Linked DNA regions of Homo sapiens: all the other regions are linked to region 3. The links are contacts of gene promoters, found by promoter capture Hi-C in blood cells and fetal thymus (Javierre and others, 2016). All regions are on one chromosome and are shown on one strand. The core of a region is centred on a gene start or on the middle of the fragment in contact, and the rest is flanking DNA. Distances in the headings are between cores, read along the strand shown.

Region 1 (3,539 bases), core at 843-3,342, 700 kb before region 3:
TATGAGATATAATTTTCCTACAGTAAAATGCACAGATCTTCAATGTTCCGTTTAAGTTTTGATAATTTTATACAAACATATAATCACTGTCCCAAACAAAATATATAGAGCATGTCCATTATCATCTCAGAACGTTCCTGTTGCCCCTCTCTAATCAATACCCCAGCCAGAGACAAACACTTTTCAGAGTTCTATCACCACAGACAATTTTTGCCTTTTCTTGGACTGCATATGAATGGATTCAAGCCATATAGATTATTTGGGGTCTCACCTCTTTCACTCAACATAATGTGTGTGAGATTCTTATGTGTTGTTGCATGTATCAGTGGTTCATTTATTTTCATGGCTGAGTAGTCTTAGGTTAGATTGATGTTCCAGAGTTTGTTTATGCATTCTCCTGTTGATAGTTATTTGGATTGTCTCCAGTTTTTGGTTATTGTGACTAAGGCTTTGGGTGGATAGATAGTTTTATTTCTCTTGTTTAAACATCGAGTAGTGTAATTGCTTGACAGTAAGATACATGTATATTCAATTGTATAGGAAATGGCCAAACTTTTCTCTAAAACGTTTGCATGAGTTTACACTTCAACAAGTGATATATAAGAGTTCTAGGGGCCAGGAACGGTGGCTCATGCCTGCAATCCCAGCACTTTGAGAGGCTGAGGTGGAAGGATTGCTTGAGCCCAGGAGTTTGAGACCAGCCTGGGCAACATGGTAAGACCTCATCTCTACAAAAATAAAAAAATTAGCCAGGGTGGTGGCTAATTTGCCTCTAGTCCTAACTACTTGGGAGGCTGAGGTTGGGAGGATTGCTTCAACCCAGGAGGTCAATGCTGCAGTGAGCTTTGTTCGTGCTACTGCACTCCAGCCTGGGTGACAGAGCATGACCCTGTCTCAAGAAAAAAACTTAGAGTTCCACTTGTTCTGCATCTTCACTAGCATTTGATATTTTCCGTTTTTCGTTGTTTTGTTTTGTTTTTATTTTAGCCACCGTAGGGGTTGTAAAATGCTATCTCATGGTGGTAATTTTCACTTCTCTGATTACTAATCAGGCTGAATACCTATTTATTTGCTTATTAGCCTTTTGTATATCTTCTTGTATAAAGTGCATATTCAATTGTTTTACCCATTTCATTGTTTCATTCCTTTTTTATTATTGATTTGTTCTTTACATATTCTGGATATAAATCCTTTAAAAAATAATTGTCTTACAAATAAGTTTCCCTGGTCTATGTTGCTTATCTATATTCCTTTTTCCTTAATTTTTAAAAAATTGAATGTTACTTTGAATTATTTTATCTCATGTATCCTCTCAATAGTCCCACTCTCTTCACTTGATGATAAATTAGAAGCATCTAAAAAAACCAATCATTCCCCAAAAAGTAAATTAAAACCTTTCTATAGCCATTGTTCAGTTCTAGTTACTCTATTAGCCTTGTTCAAATCGTTGTTTTTTTTTTTTTTTATAAAAGCAAGCTTTATTTTGCTATCTGATGAGACAATATGCTAGTTTGAGAGTTTGGAATAAAAAACATGGATATTTGTATTATTAAGGAAAGTTTCCAAGCACATAGTTATTAAGGAAAGCACATATTATTAGGCCAAGTTTCCAAGCAAAAGTCTTAGAATAGACATAAAGATGTGAAATAATGAACGGTGACCTTAGTATTTGCCATTGTCATTGTTCCATGCAATATGTTTAAAAAATGTTTTTATTTGATAGTGATAAGAATACTATCAGATCTAACCTCTTAAAATTTTAAGTGTGCAATACAGTATTGTCGACTGCTGATACAATGTTTGACTGCAGGTCTCTGGACTTAATCCATCTTGCTTACCTAAAGTTTTATGCCTGCTGACTCATAAATCCCCATTTTCCCTTCCCCTATCCCCTGGAAACCACCACTTTACTTTTTGGTCGTATGAATTTAGCTACTTTAGATACCTCCTGTAAGTGGAATCATACAGAATTTGTCTTTCTGTACCTGGCTTATTTCACTTAACATAAGGTTCTCAAGGTTCATCCATGCTGTTGCATATTGTAGAATATCCTTCCTTTTAAGGCTGCATAGTATTCCATTGTATGTATAGACCATGTTTTTTTTTGTTTTTAATCCATTCATTTGTTGATGGGCATTTAGGTTGCTTCCATATCTTGGCTATGGTGAATAGTACTGCAGTGAGCAGAGGAGTGCAGATATGTCTTTGAGATCCTGATTTCAATGCTGTTGGGTATATTTCCAGGAGTGGGGTTGCTAGATCACAAGGTAGTTCCATTTTTTAATTTGTCAAGGAAATTCTGTACTGTTTTTCGTAGCAACAGCACCTTTTTGCATTTCCACCAGCCATGTGCAAAGAAATTCTCCACATCCCCACTAACACTTGTCTCTTGTTTTTTGTTTTTTTAAGAGCAGCTGTTCTGACAGGTGTGGAGTGATCTCTCATTGTGTGTGGGTTTGAGTTGCATTTTCCTGATGATTGGTGATGTTGAGCATCTTTTCATGTGCTTCTTGGCATTTGTATGTGTTCTTCGGAGAAATGTCTAGTGAAGTCCTTTGGCCATTTTTTAATTGGGTTATTTGTAGTTTTGTTATTGAGTTTGGGAGTTCATTATATATTTGGGATATATGGTTATCAGTATATGGTTTGGAAATACTTTCTCCCCTTCCATAGGTTGCCTTTTCACTCCATTATTTCCTTTGCTGCACAGAAGCTTGTTAGTTTGACGTAGTCCCACTTGTCTGTTTTTGCTTCTATGGCCTGAAGCCTATTCACATTCTTAAAAGTATCTTTTGATGAATAGAAATAGTTGCTTCATTTTACCTTTTACTCTTTACATTTTAATTTGGATAATTTTCTTGACCTGTCTTCAAGGTCTCTGATTCTTTTCTTTGCCCATGACATGAACTTCTTATTTCTGATGTTACATCTATTTTGTTTTATAGCTAGCATTTCTGTTTGTTTCTTCTTTTGTATTTTCATCTTGCCACTGAAATTCCCCATCTCTTAACACATGCTGTTTGCCTTTCCTGCTAGATTCTTTTATGGATTTCCTATGGATGTCTTAAAGGATATAGATGAAATATCTAACATTTGCATACCTCCTGCTATTTCACATGTCATACGTGCAAACATAAATATGCATGCATAATAGACATTGATTATAAAAAATAGTGGAGACCGAGTCAGTCATATTTTCGCCTAGAAAACATCACACGCTTCATCTGTGTGGCCCCTTGGTAAGCTGCCATTTCAGTGTGGTTGTGATTTGTTTGGTTTTAATTAGGTTCCGCTCACCCCCTTGGCTTCAGATGCTTTGAGAGGGGATCCACACTTTCCCTTTAGCAGAGCTTAGGATCTGAGCATTGGTGAGACTCTTAAGTCATGCTCTGTTTGCAGCCTGACTGCTCACTTGTTGGGTTTTTGAAGGGTCCTCTTTGTTTTCTGTCTTGCCCTGGATTTGGTCATTCCAAATTCCCATCCTAGCTGGGGAACAGGGACAGGTGTGTGGCTGCCCATGGGGAAGATTTGGAGTGCCT
Region 2 (3,512 bases), core at 265-2,764, 670 kb before region 3:
CAGAAAGAACCTCCTTTTCAGCATGTAGGAACAGAAGCTTGGATTGGAATCAGGGTGTTTATTGGGACTGAAGTGATCCCCCATTTGTCTTCTCAGGGAAATGGCACCTTGGGATGAGCTGTCACAGCAAGACTGACTTCTGTCACCACCCTTTACATCACGGCTTCAATTATTTCTATGGGATCTCTTTGACCAATCTGAGAGACTGCAAGCCCGGAGAGGGCAGTGTCTTCACCACGGGCTTCAAGAGGCTGGTCTTCCTCCCCCTGCAGATCGTCGGGGTCACCCTCCTTACCCTTGCTGCACTCAATTGTCTGGGGCTACTCCACGTGCCTCTAGGCGTTTTTTTCAGCCTTCTCTTCCTAGCAGCCCTAATCCTGACCCTTTTCTTGGGCTTCCTTCATTACTTCCGGCCCCTGAACTGCTTCATGATGAGGAACTACGAGATCATTCAGCAGCCCATGTCCTATGACAATCTCACCCAGAGGCTAACGGTGGAGGCGGCCCAGTTCATACAGCGGTGGGTATTGCCTTGTCCTCTGATGCTGCCTGTTAAAAAACATTCTGGGTTATTTCTCGTGGAGGTGGAAGAACCAACAGGGTTTTGTTGTTGTTGTTGTTTGTGGTTTGTTCGTTTTTTTGAGACAGAGTCTTGCTCTGTCGCCCAGGCTGGAGTGCAGTGGCGTGATCTCGGCTCACTGCAAGCTCTGCCTCCCGAGTTCACGCCATTCTCCTGCCTCAGCCTCCTGAGTAGCTGGAACTATAGGCGCCCGCCACCACACCTGGCTAATTTTTTGTATTTTTAGTAGAGACGGGGTTTCACCGTGTTAGCCAGGATGGTCTCGATCTCTTGACCTCGTGATCCGCCCGCCTCGGCCTCCCAAAGTGCTGGGATTACAGGCGTGAGCCACCACGCCCAGCCAGAACTGGTAGGGTTATTATGCTAGCCACATTTTCCCTTCCATGCCTAACACATTTCTTCAGCCAGAGCTCGCCATAGCACATGTTTAATGGCCTTAGAAAGGTATTGCAATGCAGTGTGCTCTCCTTAGAGTCTCTTTGCCAACATTCCCCACATCCTGGGCTGGAAAGGCCCATGGCAAATTAATGTCTGCTGATGACAAAGGAGGTGTCAGATATCCCACTGGTTTTTTGTTTGTTTGTTTGTTTGAGAGGGAATCTCTCTGTGTCGCCCAGGCTGGAGTGCAAGTGGTGCGATCTTGGCTCACTGCAACCTCCACCTCCCAGGTTCAAGTGATTCTCCTGCCTTAGCCTTCTGAGTAGCTGGGATTACAGGTGCCTGCCACCATGCCTGGCTAATTTTTTTTCTATTTTTAGTAGAGACAGGGTTTCACAAACTTGGTCAGTCTGCATTTTGAACTCCTGACCTCAGGTGATCCACCCACCTCGGCCTCCCAAAGTGCTGGGATTACAGGTGTGAGCCACAGTACCCAGCCCCACTGGTCTTTAATTTTCAAATGTGGCCATCAAGAGAGGCAAGATAATGGCTTATGTTTAGTTTATAGGTTGTCCTTGTGATATAAACAATGTGGAAAGATCCAAAATATTTTGGATTAATCTCTGAGCAAACAAAACAAAACAAAAACCTCTGTGAGTAAACTGGGTGAAGTGAATGATGTCTCTTGGGTCTGTCAGGTCCCATTGAGTTTATAGTTTTGGGGATTGCAATCTGTAAATGGAATAACCATCAACAGTGGAGCAGACAGCATTCCTGAATTACATAGGTAGGTATAATATATATCTATATTATAATACATAATATAGAGAGCATAAGTAGATATAATTAAGTAGATATTATATAGAGGCTATGTCAAAAACACTTGCTATTCAAAACAAGCAAATAAAAGTATTTTGTTCCACTTGTAACTGTGGAGAACAGGACTCTAAAGAGAAATGGAAAGTTCATCTGAAAATCAGACGTTTGGTCTTTATGGTGACTTAAACTCTATGAGAGATGTAAAAGAGAGTTGGGAGGGTGATTTAAAAATTATAAAGGAGACAGAGGAAATATAGGTAATATTGGTTTGTCATCCAATTAATTGCATGACACAAAATTGTAAAATCAATCTCTGGATTGAACAATGAATGACAATGAAAAGGAAGTTATTGTGATGAAGGGAAACTATATTAGGGATTTAATTTAAAAACAAGCAAATATGCTCAGCCTAAGAAGAGAATACATAGTTAAGGTATGTGGAAGCTACATAAGTTAGGGCTGGTGAGAAAGGTAAAAGGTAACGTACTCTATGAAAATTATGTTGTCATTTCCTCACATGGAAGATGTTGTGTTCCTCTGTCCAGATCTTGTGTGCCTGGAGTTGATGCTTTACTGGAGGTTGGGAATGGGCAGTGGTTCTCCTCACTCTCTTCTTCCAGTTATGAAACAGCATAGGAGCAACCCATTCACCTGGAGGTACAACAGTGTCCTGCTACCCACAACATCACGGATTATGCAATAGATAAATCATAGGGTGTATTTTAGTATATCTCTCTGGTATCACAAAAGTGTTTCATCAACTCTGACAGAAGCCCACATATGGTTTGGGTGTCTGAACAGACTACGAAGTGACTTACACAAAAGTTGCAATTGATAGTATCACTTCCTCCTTCTAAAAATGAGACACAAATAGAATGATTAGTTCTTATAGTTCACACCGCCTCTCAGTTTTGACAGATTTTGTTAAAATCTAAATTGTCATTGAACTGTGAAATATATAAACTGGTCATTGGTCATTTTAAGTATTCTCAGTTTCAGCCTCTGGGACTTGGCTCCAGAGAGTATTCTATGTACTAGCTGCCCAACGGCTGAGGGAGCACCACACAATTTAAGTTTTTATTTTGGTTAACATCCAACTTCTGCTGCCAGTTTCTGTTTTTGTCAGTGAAGACTGACAAAATCTCAGTGGATTAACACTTGAAGATTTGTTTCTTGCCCATGCAAAATCTATTGCTGGTTGGGTGATGCTCTAGGGAAGCTTTGCTCCATGAGGAGACTCAGGGATCCAGGTTGCTAATATCTTGTGGTTCTGTCATCTCAATAGATGGCCTTCCCAGTAGCGTCCACAGGAGAAAAGAGTTGAAGGGTCCCTTGGGGGCTTTTTGTTACTTCACTGACCCAGGGGTCAGCATGTAGACCAGGCCCCATGTCTCCACCCTGACTTGACATGGGGCTAAGAGGCAGTCTCCCCATGTCTTCAGGAAGAAGAAAATGAAACGGCCTTGCTGAACATATAGCAGTGATTTTCCTACTGCAAACAGTGATTTTCAAATTTGTTTTAAAGCTGAGGAATATTTCAGATGAAATTTTATGAGAAGCTAAGTATGTCAGAGGGATAAAAGTTGCAGTGCTTGGGTGAACCTGGAACAGAGGACTGCATTTGGAAATTGCTGACATTTAATAAAGCCCCATGGAAATCTCATGAACAGCTGGAGAGAAAGGGCAGACTCTGCAACAAAAGAATAAAAGAACATGTGAGCAAACATCTAGTTAG
Region 3 (3,570 bases), core at 773-3,272:
TAGATTGCATTAAATAAAGTACTTAATGAATAATTATTTGTATTACTTCTGGATAAATTGCTTGGAACTCAGAGCTTCCTCTTACTGTGAGAATTAAAAAAGAATTAAATTCCTATACCATTCCACTTAATAGAAACTGCATGCCCACATTTTAATTTATGTATCTATTTCTAAGTAGCAGTGAGGTAAGACTTGTTGCCCACATGTTCAAGGCCTTGAAAACAGGCCCCATGCTCTTCTCATGATCATAGAAAGAAGAAATATCCTTTGCTTGAAAGGAACAGAGCTGGAATCTTAAGGATAAATAAAAACTCAAGAGTAATATAAGTCATTTTATTTCCTTATTTCACTATCACCCAAAATAATCTTTTCCACAACCAGAGCACAGATCCCTAATAATTACATCTTAAGAGAAAAGTCCTAATCCTTTCTGTTTCCAAGCAAACGATTATTTCTCTGCAGTGTTAACTTAGTAGAGTCAATGCTGGTGTTTGCCTTTGGGTCTTAATTTCTTGATGAGGAACACAGCCTAAGTTACTACTTAATTACCTCTATTTTTTCTGGTGCTGTTAGCAGAACAGAAGCAACCAACGATCCCGCAGACGCCCCAGCGAAGGCTTTGACATCCTTCACAAGTTTTTTGCCATGTCTGCAAAGTGCAGATGCTGCCCCCAAGTGGTAAATGCCCAGAAATCCACACGCTGCAAATGATAGGTTGATGTGCTTCATTCTAGCTGTAGCACTGGCAATACAAAAAACAAAAATGCTGTAAGTTGGAATAGTTTATCCCACATACTGTGTAGTCTTATGTTGATCATCGTTCCAAGGCTTTCTTCTAACATCATTCTCTGTTTTAAGCACAGTGGTTTCAATTAATTCTAATTAAACACAAGAATCTTTCAAGGAAACCCTTTCTTTCCCTCCTCACCTTGACCCAAGTCTTATACATTAAAACAAAACAAAACAAAAACATTCCACATTTATTCGGTACATAGATTATGAATCTACGATTTAATTACTTGGCAGGAAACAGACGTATAAATTCCAGTTGACAAGGGCATTTGGTCTTTTCTCTTGACCCTTTGAAACGTTTTGCGGGTGGGGGCGGCACTACCATTATGAAACAGAAAATTATTAGAGACCGTATCAAATTCCAAATGAACAATACATTTGTTCTTGGTAAGTGTATCAGAAGATTTCAAATACAGTTCCCTACTCCCCTTCCCAATTTCTATTGTGAGCACCCATGCTTTTATGAACGCCAATACAATTACTCAGTAACGCAATAAGCAATCACTCAACAATGCAATACATTTCTTTGCCAAGTATCTCAACACAAACTGAGGTCATGCCTGGTGAAGGCAATTTAAGGCTCTATGAAATGTCAGCCACGCCACTTTATACTTGGAACACATCTAAATACAAAATTACATGTTTTCCTATGCCTCAGTGCGCACAATTTGCCCAAGTGAATGAAATTGTGCCTCCACAAGGCTGTCCATTCTGAAGGTCTCAGGGTTTCCTTGGGGGCCCAAGGGCCCCATTCAGGGACCCCAAGATGAGGCACATTACAGGGCCTCGAATTTAGGGACCTAAGACCGCCTGTTCCTGATGCACCCGGCCAGGCCCTGTGAGGGCAGGTGGCTCGGCCGCCGCAGGCTGCGCTGGCGTCCGCGTAGGCTGAGTCCCAGTCATCGATCCGGGGTCAAGCCCCAGTTTTGATTCCACTTCTGCAAATGGGGACGGGAAGGGGGTTGGGTGTGTAGCAACCAGGCGGCCAGGCCCAGCCAGCACAGGCTCAGTGCCCTCCCGCGGCTTGGAGGCCGGCAGGGCCGGGGTGGTCCCCGCATCAGTCCCGCAGGAGCACACCCTTGCTGGGCCCCAGGGCTCCGTACCAATGCAGCCCCGGGACACTTCCGTGTTGAACGAGTCCCTTTAACCAGATGGCGGGGCCGGGCCGTCACTCAACGCCATTCCGCCACCAAGGCCGCGCTACGCTCTCCGCGAGCCGGCCCAGGAAAGTCCTGCGGCAGGGGTTGGTACCGCCTCCCGCGCAGGTATGTGACGTCATCGCGCCGACGAAGGCGCCCGCTAGGCCCCGCCTGCTCTATTTAAACTTCTGGACTCAACCTGGCCGCTAGACCGGAGCGTCCTCCAGCGCAGGCAAGGATTCCTCGTTTAGAGTCATGTTATCTTCGAGTACCTAGAGAGACATTTTAACCCACACCCTAGAGAGGCGTTGTAATCCTTACGTGTCTTTTAACGCTACTTGGCCCTTACCTGCGAGCAACTGACCTTTAATAATCCTCATTTTCTGTGCCCCGGAAGTGCCTTACCCTCTTCGCGTCTGTTTCCCGGAAGTGGTTCTTCTCCCTCTCCACCCTTTCGCCCGCCTGGGCGGTCCAGCTGCCCCTAGGGGCCAACTCCAGCGGCTATTTTGGGGCTGGACATCCCGCAGCTTTTCAAGGCGTGCCTTTGGTTTTTTTAAGAAGTGCTATCTAAAGGAAAAGCTGGACTATGACTCTGGGGAACTTTCATATCCTCAGTTGACCTTAGGCTGTGTGACCTTGAGCAGGTAGCATAACCTCTCTGAGTTTCCCGCGTGCCTTATGTGCAGATTGAGATGCTAAAATGAGAGAGCTAAATTGGAAAGCTTTTTCCACATAGGGGGCCGTGAGCAGGTGGCTGTTTTGTCCTCTGGCACCTTTGGCTCAGACTTAAGCAGCTTCAACGACCGCCAAGATGCCTGCCATGCCCACCAAGATTTAAAGGACTCTGATAATTCTTTCTCTCCCCAAACGGTGTTTTCCTTATCTAATCCTAATAACCAAGCCTGGAGGAATCCCTGACTTCGTGATTGAAGGCTCTCCAGGTCCCCTAGTTTAAGGGCAGAGATTTACTTTCTCTGAGGCTACAAAGGAGCGTCTGCGAGAATGTCTCTACCTTAGACAAAACAGGGAGGAGGGGTGGAGCTCTCCAAATTGCCTCTGGTTTGGGCTTTTTCTTTCTGTTTTGGTGTATCGTCTCTGGCCAACAACACCTGTGAGTCCTTGATGTGACGATTAGGGAAGATGTTTTTAATTCACATAACTATTCTTTAGAGAAAATTGATCCTGAAACACCTTATTGCCTTATCGTAGAATGACTGCATTACTCAGAATTCTTTACCTCTACCGGAATTTAGTGAAGGGAAGGCACAACGTACATTAGGAAAATACAGGACACACTCCAGTCCTTAAACCTTCCACAATCTTCTAGCTCTTTAAGGTCGAGTGTGATCCTCCCCAGAACTGCATCTTCCAGGAAGCTCATGAGAAAGGAAGGATCCCAGGTCCCATCTCTGATCTGAGTCGGCATCTGCGTTTTAACAGAATCCTGAAGCAGTGGTCTAACTCCTTTGGTGGTGTTATTGTTTGCATGTATACCTCCAAAATTCACATATTGAAATACTAACCCCCAAGGTGATAGTATTAGGAGGTGGGGCCTTTGGGAGGTAATTAAGTCATGAGGGTGAAGCCCTCATGAATGGGATTAGTACTCTTAGAAAAGGGACCCCAGAGAGGTCTCTTT

What was found. Contacts are between HindIII fragments. The CHiCAGO score rates a contact against its expected background, and 5 or more counts as called.
Region 1: a fragment that was not itself captured here is called in contact with the fragment with the promoter of PNPLA4 in region 3 in 1 of 17 cell types (total B cells); the score reaches 5.2 in total B cells.
Region 2: a fragment that was not itself captured here is called in contact with the fragment with the promoter of PNPLA4 in region 3 in 1 of 17 cell types (total B cells); the score reaches 5.9 in total B cells.

The regions. Positions count from the first base shown.
Region 1 is chrX:7,225,999-7,229,537 of GRCh38, forward strand. The region is part of intron 2 of STS (steroid sulfatase); the gene reads left to right. Among named protein-coding and RNA genes, the nearest start is that of PUDP, 80 kb to the left of the region's middle. The HindIII fragment of the contact is 1,237 bases long and covers 1,475-2,711 here.
Region 2 is chrX:7,259,253-7,262,764 of GRCh38, forward strand. STS (steroid sulfatase) reads left to right here. Exons shown (of 11, transcript NM_001320752.2): 6 at 97-520. Among named protein-coding and RNA genes, the nearest start is that of PUDP, 110 kb to the left of the region's middle. The HindIII fragment of the contact is 2,959 bases long and covers 36-2,994 here.
Region 3 is chrX:7,925,391-7,928,960 of GRCh38, forward strand. PNPLA4 (patatin like domain 4, phospholipase and triacylglycerol lipase) reads right to left here and starts at 2,023. Exons shown (of 7, transcript NM_004650.3): 1 at 1,896-2,023; 2 at 550-742. The coding sequence starts at 729. LOC107985675 (a long non-coding RNA gene) reads left to right here and starts at 2,110. Exons shown (of 5, transcript XR_001755784.2): 1 at 2,110-3,570. RefSeq lists a silencer at 458-752 and enhancers at 729-778, 1,441-1,670, 1,901-2,140, 2,161-2,210, 2,551-2,630. The HindIII fragment of the contact is 3,086 bases long and covers 1-2,651 here.